Linked DNA regions of Homo sapiens: region 1 is linked to region 2. Evidence: promoter capture Hi-C in human tissues and cell types (Jung and others, 2019). All regions are on one chromosome and are shown on one strand. The core of a region is centred on a gene start or on the middle of the fragment in contact, and the rest is flanking DNA. Distances in the headings are between cores, read along the strand shown. Region 1 overlaps RNF157 (ring finger protein 157). Region 2 holds the start of WBP2 (WW domain binding protein 2).

Region 1 (5,580 bases), core at 1,701-4,200, 360 kb before region 2:
GAGTAGCTGGGACTACAGACACATGCCATCACTCCCGGCTAATTTTTGTATTTTTAGTAGAGACGAAGTTTCACTATGGTGGACAGGCTGGTCTCAAACTCCTGACCTCAGTTGATCTGCCCACCTTGGCCTCCCAAAGTGCTGGGATTACAGGTGTGAGCCACCATGCCTGGCCTGTTTTTCCTTTATTGAGACAGAGTCTCACTCTGTTGCCCAGGCTGGAGTCCAGGGGTGTGATCATAGCTCACTCCTGCCTTGACCTCCAGCAATCCTCCCACCTTAGCTTCCCGAGTATCTAGGACCACAAGCACATGCCACCATGCCTGGCTAACTTTTTAATTTTTTTATTGTAGAGATGAGGTCTTGCTATGTTGCCCAGGCTGATCTTGAACTTCTGGGCTCAAGCAATCCTCCTGCCTTGGCCTCCCAAAGTACTGGGATTGCAGGCGTGAGCCACTGGGCTTGGCCTGGAAGCTTATTCCTTAGTAGACTCCTCAGATGAGCTCAGGGGCTTTTCTTTCTTTGACTACCTTAGAATGTTACTCCCTTGTCTTCTGACATAAAGTGTTTCTGTTGAAAAGTCTGATGACACCGATTTTCTTCCCCTCTAGAATTTTGACTTTTTGCCTGGGTGCCTTTCTTTCTTTAAAGGTCAGTCATTTTACTGAACTTGTCTTAGTGTTGATCATTCTGGCTCATACCTTTTGGTTTTTTTTCTTGATATTTATGTGTTTATTATTGTGGCAAAAAAACACATAACGTTAAATTTAATCATAGTAACCATTTTTAAGCATTCATTAGTGTTACATATATTCACTCTGTTTTGCAACAGATGTCTAGAACTTTTTTATTTTATAAAACTAAAACTATGTACTTGTTAAACATTAATTTCCCCTTTCTCCTTCCCACTCATACCTTACGGTTTACGTATAATCTTGGAGATATGTGTATGATGTGACTTTTTAAAGCCTGCAAAGAATTCTGAATATGAGTTTTGATTAATAAATTATAGCTCACTAATAATGAAACACTCGAAGTTTATCTACTAGTGACATATGTTTTTTTCCCGTTAGCAAATAGGCAAGGGTGTATTTTAGTTGAGTTCTGCAGTTTATCTGTGAGTGACGTGTTTCTCCTGGTAACAAATAGGCAAAGAAGTACTTTAGTAGAGTTCTTTTCCCCCACCACTGATTTTGAAGCACAGTTCATTGTGTTAAGAAGTAAAAATATGCATAAGCTGTCTAAAAGTCATCTTGTTTGGGGACTGTTGATGTGTTTGGTGTTGGTATCTGATGATCTAGTAGCTATACATAGCTGTGCACCAATTTGTCCCTCTAGAAAGACTGAGCAAGTAGAAAGCTTTATTCAGTCTGAAAAAGGCTGATTTGCTTTTCTCATTTGTCTAAATGAAAGCAAGCTGCTAGAGGGGTTCATTTCAAAGAAAGGAAAAAGCAAATTTTTGGTTGTAAAATGAAATACCAATAAGTAAATTTATTTTTCCTTTTAACAGATGAGGATGGCTGGGCTCGGTGGCTCACACCTGTAATCCCAACACTTTGGGAGGCTGAGGCGGGCAGGTCTCTTGACCCAGGAGTTTGAGACCAGCCTGGCCAACATGGTGAAACTCCATCTCTACAGAAAAACAAAAACAAACAAAAAATAGATGAAGGTTTGGGGAGCTCTTTTTAATTCATACAATCTTGCACATTTTATGCGTCTTCCCCTTAATAACCAAAAGTTTAGAAATTAATATTGCTAAAGAATTATTGAGTGATTGAACAGGTGTTCAAGCTAATTTTAAGTAAAAGTAAGAACAATTTTGCCAACTTTGTAATTTTGAGAAAATCATTCCCAGTTATAAGTATACAGCTTATATAGCTTTTATGGGGTTTTTTGTTTGTTTGTTTGTTTTTTGTTTTTGTTTTTGTTTTTTTTTGACACAGGGTCTTGCTCTTTTACCCAGACTGGAATGTAATGGCGCAGTCATGGCTCACTGCAGGCCTGACCTCCTGGGCTCAAGTGATCCTCCCACCTCAGCCTATTGAGTAGCTGGGACCACAGGCTTGGGCCATCATACCCAGCTAATTTTTTAATTTTTTGTCGAGACAAGGGTCTAATTATAATATATTGTGAACATTTTTAATGTCAGTAGATATAGATTTACAACACCACTTTGAAAGGCTTCATAATACTCTACTGACTGAATATACCATAGTATTATTATTATTATTATTTTTAAATATACAGAGACAGAGCCTCACCATGTTGCCTAGGCTGGTCTTGAGCTCCTGGGCTCAAGTGATCCTCTCACCTTGGCCTCCCAAAGTGCTAGGATTACAGGTGTGAGCCACCACACCCAGACTATTCTTGATTTTAATGCAAGGCAAAACTACAATTAGCTCTACACATCTTTTGTGGTCATTTCTTTTCTTTTAATATTATGGCATAAAAGGGCATTTCTAATCGAACCCTGTTGCCTGCTTTAACTCTTTAGCCCCCAAATCATTAGGGGTCCTCTCTCGCTAGGTTCAATCATGGCCACCTCTAAGCCAATCATCCATGGATTTTTACTGCCCCAGATCCCTCCCCTGAGATCTCACAGGTACTGGAAACTCAGTGGTCCCACACTGAGGTCAACCTAGACAATTCCAGACATCAAACTCTCTTCTCTCCCTTTCTTTTTTCATGATTTGGGCAAGCCATCCATCTGTGTAACATCTTTAACTTTTCCAATTTTACCTAATATATGATAAATGTATAATTCCTGATGCATAGAAAATATATCTTGCTGAAGTTCATCAGTAAATGACTTAAATTATTTGAGATTGCTGCTTCTACTTAAGGCAACTAGGTACCTCCCCTCTCCATAAATTATGCACTTGGAAAATAGGGCTAGCAAGTGCCAGACATAAATAATTGATAATTAAGCTTTCCTAAATGATGAATTCTGCTGTTGTATCACTGTATCAGATGGCTGCCCTTTGTCTTTTTAAGTTTTAATGGGTGACTTTCAGTAGTTCCTCAGTGATTGCTTTGATCTGGGTTGCATTATTACTCTCAAAGAATGTTTTCCTGCTTGTTTAATTCAATAGTTGCCTCACTTTGTGGTGAGTGATTTTATCCACATTGTTTTATTTAATAGATGTTTCTAGACTAAAGCTCCTTGTGTAGAAAGTTTTAAAAATGAATGTTTGGTTCAGTTTTTGCTAGAATTTTCTTCTCTGTCTTCCTTCCTATGGCTTCTCCACAGGCTCAAAGTACTGAATCTCATTTTTTTTTTTTTTTTAGTTTGCTATAAATCTTTTTTTCCTTTTTTCTTTTCTTTTCTTTTTTCTTTCTTTCTTTTTTTTTTCTTAGAGAGGGTCTCACTCTGTCACCCAGGCTGGAGTGCAGTGGCAATCATAGCTCGCTGCAACCTTGAACTCCTGAACTCAAGCGACCCTTCTGCGTCAGCCTTCTGAGTAGCTAGAACTCCAGACGCATGCTACCATGCCCAACTAATTTTTGTATTTTTATTTATTTTTTGTTTTGTTTTTAGTAGAGACAAGGTCTTGCTAAGCTTGCTAAGTTGCCCAAGCTGGTCTCCAACTCCTGGCCTAAAGCAATTCTCCTGCCTCAGCCATCCAGAGTTTTAGGATTACAGGCAAGATCCATCACACCCTGCCTGCTACAAATCTTCAACAAAAATTGCAACTGATTTAGGGAGTTTGTGTATATCCTCAATGTATTATACACAAGCAAGCCTTTTGCCACTTAATAAGTTCCTTGTGTTAATTTCAGAAATGGGGTATATGAGAGTGTTGATAAAGGTATATTATGGGATGTGTCCTTTACTTTGGACAGCTTACCTTCATGGGAGAATTAGATAATAGAAATTAGAGGTAAGCGGCATTCGTTTAATCATCAAACTTAAAATGTATTCCCAGATGTAATTTTCAGCATAACCTAAGCCTCCTTTGGTGACTTCTCAGTTCCATCATATCCTGTCACAGTTCCTTGGTTTGTCCGGATGAGGCTGATGGGAATTTTGGCCCCTGACTGCTGATTTCATTTGGTTATTATATTGCACTGAAAATATTTCTGCCTCCTGGCTGATTAAGAAGGGGCAAAGGGGCCCTGCCATGACTGATGTCCCAGCAGTTCTGGCCATTAGCACTGTTAATGAATTTGAGGTGGAGAGGGTATGTGTGTAGCCTTCTTTCATAGCATTAAATTGTCCCCTTATTTTACACCATAGTCTGTGTAGTAATTGGTAGAGAAAGCCAGGGATAACTGTATTATCTAAATTCGTATTTTCCTGTGAAACAATAATGTTTGCAGCAAGTTAAAGTGTGAAGAACCTTCATCATAGAAGGTTATGGAGGTATAGCAGTAGTGGTGGGTGGGTACTGAGACTTCTGTGTGTAGGTATAAGCTGGCTTATGAAAATCTAGGCAAAGAAATGTGTGCGTCTGCGGATATAGGAAAAAAACTCAGTTTCTCCTATACACTCACAACACAAGCAGCACAGAAAACTTCTGTGACCTCTGGTCAGCAAAATGTGTGGGGATTCTCTCCACCAGCAACCACTCAGTTCTGCAGAGGACACCAGCTGGGTGTCCTCCAATTCATTTCACTTCTGATACTACTTGAAGATAGTGTCCCATCCCACAGGTTGAGGGTGCAATCTCACAAGACTGCCCCCCACTTCTGATGCCCATCGCAAGCCCCAGGTTGTTTTACCTGTGCTTCCAACTAACCAACCAGAAAGCAGGGTTCCCATAACCCCCTCCTTGGGTGTGATTAACTTGCTAGAGGGACTCACAGAACTAGAGAAACACATTTACGAGTTTATTATCAAGGATATTACAAAGGATACAGAGAGAGATACATAGGGCGAGGTTATGTGAGAAGGGGCACAGAGCTTCTATGCCGTCTCTGGGCATGTTACCCTCCAGAAACCTGTAAGTGTTCCCCTGTTTGGAAGCTTTCTGAACCAGTCCTTTGGGTATTTATAGAAGCTTCATTACATAGCATGGTTGATTACATCATTGGACATTGATGATCAACTTAACTTTCATCCCCTCTCCCTTCCTCAGTGGTTGGGGGATGGGCTGAAAGTCCCCACCCTCTAATCCTGCCTTTTCTTTCCAGTGACCAGCCGCCATCCTGAGGCTACCTAGGGGCTGCCAGGCAGTGGTTAATTCATTAGCATATGTAAAGACAAAAAAAAAAGACATCACTTTGGATATTCCAAGCATTTTTTTTTTTTTTTTTTGAGATGGAGTTTTGCTCTGTCACCTAGGCTGGAGTGTAGTGGTGTGATCTTGGCTTACTGCAACCTCTGCCTCCCGGGTTCGAGAGATTCTCCTGCCTCAGCCTCCCAAGTACCTGGGACTTCAGGCGCATGCCACCATGCCTGGCTAATTTTTGTATTTTTAGTAGAGATGGGGTTTCACCGTGTTGGCCAGGCTGGTCTCTAACTCCTGACCTCAAGTGATCCGCCCTCCTCAGCCTCCCAAAGTGCTGGGATTACAGGCATGAGCCACCATGCCGGCCTGGATATTCCAAGGATTTTAAGAGTTGCATTCCAGGAAATAG
Region 2 (5,969 bases), core at 3,340-5,839:
ATTTTTACTGTGGGTCAAGGTAAGGAAAAACAGCCACCGTTTGGTAAATGCTGCCAACCTTTTTTTTTTTTTTTTTTTTTAAATTTTTAGAGGGAGGGTCTCACTATGTTGCCCAGGATGGTCTTAAACTCCTGGGCTGAAGCAATCCTCCTGCCTCAGTCTTCCAAAATGCTGGGATTACAGGCATGAGCCACCTCTACGGGCCTGCCAACCTCTTTTATGTCATGGCACACACAGAAAATGATTTGTTCAGTGAAAATGGTATTTATTTGGCTCACTGGGGCAAACAGATTCATCTTATTGGGAGTCAAGAGGCGACCAGGCGGGGGCGGTGGCTCATACCTGTAATCCTAACACTTTCGGGAGTGTTAGGTGGGCGGATGACTTGAGGTCAGGAATTTGAGACCAGCTTGGCCAACATGGTGAAACCCCATCTCTACTAAAAATACAAAGATTAGCTGGGCGTGGTGGCACGATTCTGTAGTCCCAGCTACTCTGGAGGCTGAGGCATGAGAATTGCTTGAACCCGGGAGGCGGAGGCTGCAGTGAGCAGAGATCATGTCAATGCACTCCACCCCAGGAGACGGGCAAGACCCTGTATCAAAAATAAATACATAAATAATAAATAAAATTATAAACAGAAAAAACAGGTGACCAGTTCAGGGGCTCAGCTGCCCCAGACCTTGCCTGCTGGTATCTGAGGCCAACCTGCACTCCTCCTTAGCGCACCGCTAAGATGTGCTCCAGTGTGGAGAATATGAGCATCATACTGCAGTGAAAAAGAGATCTGGAGACAGGCAGACAGGAGTATGAGGCCAGAGGAGAGGTCTGAGTACTGAGACCTGGGCCCAGGGGAGCCTCCTGCTGCTCACCTGGTTCAGCAATAAACCATTGTTGAAGTCTTCGGTTTGAGTTTTGAGTTCTGGTACGTTCCAGCCCCAAAGTCATGGGAGCCGCCCAGGAAGTGTGTTCACATGGTCATATGTTTTTGTAAAACTTAGAAATTCTGGACATTGTAGCCGGAGCTGGTCAAGCTTGTTATCTCTGCACTGCAACTTCCTCTTCTTGTCATTTCCCCTCCTGTCAGGAGGCCTCACTGTAGCCACAGTATTGTGAATGAATAATTGTGGGGTTGTTTTTTTTTTTTGAGTTAGAGCTTTCCTCTCGTTGCCCAGGCTGGAGTGCAGTGGCTTGATCTCAGCTCACTGCAACCTCCGTCTCCAGGGTTCAAGCGATTCTCCTGCCTCAGCCTCCCGAGTAGCTGGGATTACAGGTGACCGCTACCACACCCAGCTAATTTTTTGTATTTTTAGTAAAGACGGGGTTTCACCACGTTGGCCAGGCTGGTCTCAAATTCCTGACCTCAGGTGATCCACCTTCCTCAGCCTCCCAAAGTGCTGGGATTACAGGCATGAGCCACTGCGCCCGGCCTGTGTATTTTATTTCTTAAAAAGAGCCTCCAGATCACTTGAGTCCAGGAGTTCCAAGGAAGCAGTGAGCTATGATCGCACCTGGGTGACAGAATGAGACCCTGTCTCAAAAAACAAAAACATAAACAACCAAGACAGCCTCCAAAATTGTATAAGCTTCAAGGCCTGGCAAAACCTGAACTTGCTCCTGTCTCCAACGTATTTGGCAAAGGGGTGGGAGAGGGGTGGGCAGGTTGTCCCCATCTTCCCATTTATGGTCCTTAGAGCAGCCAATGCTGCCTGCTCTTTGCTGGGGGGATTTTCCTTTTTTTCTTTTTCTTTTCTTTGAGACAGAATCTTCCTTTGTTGCCCAGGCTGGAGTGCACTGGGACGATCTTGGCTCACTGAAACCTTCGCCTCTCAGGTTCAAACAATTCTCATGTCTCAGCCTCCCTATTAGCTGGGATTACAGGAACCACGCCACCATGCACAACTAATTTTTGTATTTTTGCGTTTTTTTTTTTTTTTTTGGGATGGAGTTTTGCTCTTGTTGCCCAAGCTGGAGTGCAATGGCGTGATCTCGGCTCACTGCAACCTCCACCTCCCAGGTTCAAGGGATTCTCCTGCCGCAGCCTCCCGAGTAGTTGGGATTACAGGCGCGCGGATTACAGGCGCTTACAGGCGCACAACACCACACCCGGCTAGTTTTTGGTATTTTTTAGTAGAAACGGGGTTTCTCCATGTTAGCCAGCTGGTCTTGAACTCCTGACCTCAGGTAATCCGCCGACCTTGGCCTCCCAAAGTGCTGGGATTACAGGTGTGAGCCACCGCGCCCGGCCTAATTTTTGTATTTTTATAGAGATGGGATTTTGCCATGTAGTCCAGGCTGGTCTCAAACTCCTGGCCTCAAGTGATCCACCCACCTTGGCCTCCCAAAGTGCTGGGATTACAGGCACGGCACCAGGCCTGGATTTTGCTTTTCTTTTTCTTTTTTCTGAGATGGAGTCTTGCTCTGTCGCCTAGGCTGGAATGCAGTGGCATGATCTTGGCTCACTGTAACATCTGCCTCCCAGGTTCAAGCGATTCTCCTGCCTCAGCCTCCCGAGTAGCTGGGATTACAGGTGCCCGCCACCATGCCCGGCTAATTTTTGTATTTTTAGTAGAGATGGAGTTTCACCATGTTGGCCAGGCTGGTCTTGAACTCCTGACCTCAGGTGATCCACCTGCCTTGGCCTCCCAAAGTGCTGGAATTTGGCTCACGCCTTTGGCGTGAGCCACAAACCCCGGCCTGCTTTTCTTTTTTAAATTTACATATTATTTATTTATTTTTATTTTATTTTATTTTGAGATGGAGTCTCACTCTGTCACCCAGGCTGGAGTGCAGTGGCGCAATCTCAGATCACTGCAAGCTCTGCCTCCCGGGTTCACGCCATTCTCCTGCCTCAGCCTCCCAAGTAGCTGGGACTACAGCCGCCCGCCACCACGTCCGGCTAATTTTTTTTTTTTTTTTGTATTTTTAATAAGGGGTTTCACTCTGTTAGCCAGGATGGTCTCGATCTCCTGACCTCGTGATCCGCCCGCCTCGGCCTCCCAGAGTGCTGGGATTACAGGCGTGAGCCACGCGCCCGGCCTAAATTTATATTTTAAACGCACATAGGAAAAAAAAATTAAACAGTACCAAAGAGTACAATGCATACTGACATACCGAGTCACCAATCCACCCCAAATTCCTAGACCCATGTCTCAAAAATGCCACAGACATTTTCTGATGGATCTTTGCAAAAATTTTCTATCTAGATCCTATTTTTTATACAAATACAACTATATGTATACAGCATTCTGTGCTTAATAACCCTTGATGATCTTCCCATATCAGCACATAGTCTGACTTAATTCTTTTTAAAGACTGCAGAGATTGCAGGCGCCAAAATACATCTAACCATTGGGGCAGATTTCATTATGACTATCCTTAACCCACTGTACTTGTCCCGCAAGGTCCAACCTGGTATTGCACAGGACCTCACAGAACGCTGCTGTTTCCTGATCTTTTCTAGTGAGGCAGCTTTGTTTCTTCACATAGGAGACCTCCCTGGAAAGCGAAGTCAAGCAGGTGGATCTAGAGGTTGGCCACCACAGTCAGGAAAGCAGCTGTCTACTGAAAAGCAAACTCTAATTCCTTAACATTAACGAGTACCGGAACTACCACGTGGGAAGTGCAGCCCCCTCTCTCCGCCTCACGGATTCAGCTCGGAGGTGCAGGGGTTTGGTGGGGGGCGGTTAGGGAATGACAGCTGCCCCGTGGAGGACGCCCAGGGCTGGGTCACGAGCTGACAGGAGTCAGCCTTATTCTGTAAATCCTAGTTATCAGGATGCCGGTTTCGCGCCGTGCCCAGTCCCACTCAGCCTTCAGTCTTCCGGCCGGGACCCCGCTGGGCGCTAAGGGGGGAGCGGCGCCACCGCGAGGCCGGAGAGGGGGCTGCGAGGGGCGCCCGGCCGGCCTGCGAACGTGGTGGGAGCCAGGCGGGGCACACGGCCTCCCCTTCCCATGAGGGACTCTCCCCGCCCCCCGGGCTCAGCGCTGGGAGTGGTGAGATGGATGGCGGGGTGATCCGACGCCGCCAGCCCACCGCGTCCCCAAGAGCCGGGGCCTCCGGCTCAGCTAAACGCCCCAGAGTCACGCATGCGCCCCATAAACGTCTGCTGAGTGAACGAAAGCTCCCCATCCACAAGGGGACAGCTCGGCGCTCCCACGCCATGTCCAGGTCGCATTCGACCAGCAGGACTTCCCTTAACGCGCTGCCGGAGTCCCCAAGATCGCGCCCCTGCCAGGAGCGGAACTGTTTATTTCCGTCCGGCTGAAGAGGCGGGGTGGGGATGGCACAAGCCGATTGGTTACGCAAAATGTGGAACCAATTCAGGCCTATGATCCAGGAGACTACAAGTTCCAGAATGCATCCTTCCTCCAGCATAGGGACAGGCCGAGGCTGCGGGGGCGTTGCCTGCTGGGAATTGTAGTCTTCATCTTGTTTGTTGCGCAGGAGGAACTGGAAGGAGGGAGTAAACTATTACCACGTGACGTTCGGGTCAGGTGTTTGGGCCAGCCTCCGCACTCGAGCTTTGATTGGCTGACTCTAATAAGAAGACGCCACTAGGGGCGGGGCGAAGAGGGGCGCAAGCTCATTGCGTTTTGAGTCTCGGGACCCCTGTTGGAGAGACTATGGCGCTCAACAAGAATCACTCGGAGGGCGGCGGAGTGATCGTCAATAACACCGAGAGGTGAAAACACTGCGGAAGGATCCTGGAGGACCAAAGTTCGGGTGTCGAGGAAGTGGGCGGTGGGTGGTGGGTGGTGGGGAATAAGCCCCTGAAGAGGGAGCACTGATGGAGTGAGGTTGGTGGGGAACGGCTGGGGGCGGGGTTGGAGGAAGGTGGGTGGGCCGTGGGGGAGAGCCCGGGAGGTTGTGATCAGCTGGGAGGCGGGGGTGGGACGTCTGCATGGGGACCTGGTATGGGGCCCCCGGTGGGGCCTAGGGGTGATTCTTGAACCCCTTCCCAGACTTGTGATTTCAGTAGCTGGGAGGAGCCCCAAACAAAAATAATTGTCACTTATTGGATGTCTACAACGTTACTACGTGTCAGGCTCTGCGCCTTTTCTACCTTATTTAATAAATTCTGTGCAGTATAATCTACTACTGTCCACATTTCACAGGTAGGGAAAGTGGAGGGCAGAAAGGTTAAGTAACTTGCCCGAGATCGCAACTGTGTAAGTAACAGAGGTGGTAATTCCAGGAAAGGAGTCTTGACTCCAAAGTTAATAGGATTAACCACCAGCATACAGGCTTCCAGTATGTTCCAGAACTGTTCAGGTTCCCGGTAAAAAACTGAGGTCCCAGAGGTGAAATTAAACAGATGACGTTTGTCAGGTGTCTAACAGTTCCTGGCACTGTGTGGGTCCGTAGTCATTCCCTTGCCTCTCTCTTGAATGCCTGTTGGTTTGGGTCACCTCGGAAGGCAGAGCTCTCCTAATTCAAGGTTCTTTCCACTCCATCCTCCCCACCCCTTGCTCATTGCATCCTGTCTCTCCTCCAGTCTCTGCCAAGAGAAGCCTTAAATGGCCTCTGTCTCCTTTTGTTCCTTGGGTATTGAAAATCAGACCAGCCAGCCCTGGGTTGAACTATGCCGACCCTGAATTGCCTCTTGAAGGCAGAAGGAGCTTAGGAGGCACCTGAGTCCCCAAAGGAGACATCGTGGAGTCAGAGCCCTGTACCCAGCTAAGGCCAGCATCCAGCTGCCCTGTGACTTGGGAATGTTTGATGAGTCAGAGGAAAATGCCTAGAGTGACCCAGCATGCTCACTTTCCCTCTATCTTACCCGCTCAGAGTTTCATGGGCCCAGCCTGTTGCTGGTAATTCCTTCTTTTCTCTGAGCAGTACTTCTCTTCTCTTTTTTTTTTTTTTTTTTTTTTTTTTTTAGATGGAGGCTTGCTCTGTCGCCCAGGCTGGAGTGCAGTGGCACGATCTCAGCTCACTGCAACCTCCGCCTCCTGGGTTCAAGCGATTA

The links. The method cuts DNA at HindIII sites, captures the fragments that hold promoters and counts their contacts. A contact is called where the count stands out against the background at its distance.
Region 1: a contact is called between a fragment that was not itself captured here and the fragment with the promoter of WBP2 in region 2, in 1 of the 25 tissues and cell types used here (dorsolateral prefrontal cortex).

What each region holds. Positions count from the first base shown.
Region 1 is chr17:76,213,247-76,218,826 of GRCh38, reverse strand. All of the region lies in intron 1 of RNF157 (ring finger protein 157), which reads left to right. Among named protein-coding and RNA genes, the nearest start is that of RNF157, 24 kb to the left of the region's middle. The HindIII fragment of the contact is 4,066 bases long and covers 918-4,983 here.
Region 2 is chr17:75,853,955-75,859,923 of GRCh38, reverse strand. WBP2 (WW domain binding protein 2) reads left to right here and starts at 4,589. Exons shown (of 8, transcript NM_012478.4): 1 at 4,589-4,685. The coding sequence starts at 4,627. RefSeq lists enhancers at 2,970-3,765, 4,374-4,503 and a silencer at 3,834-4,003. The HindIII fragment of the contact is 6,498 bases long and covers 1,311-5,969 here.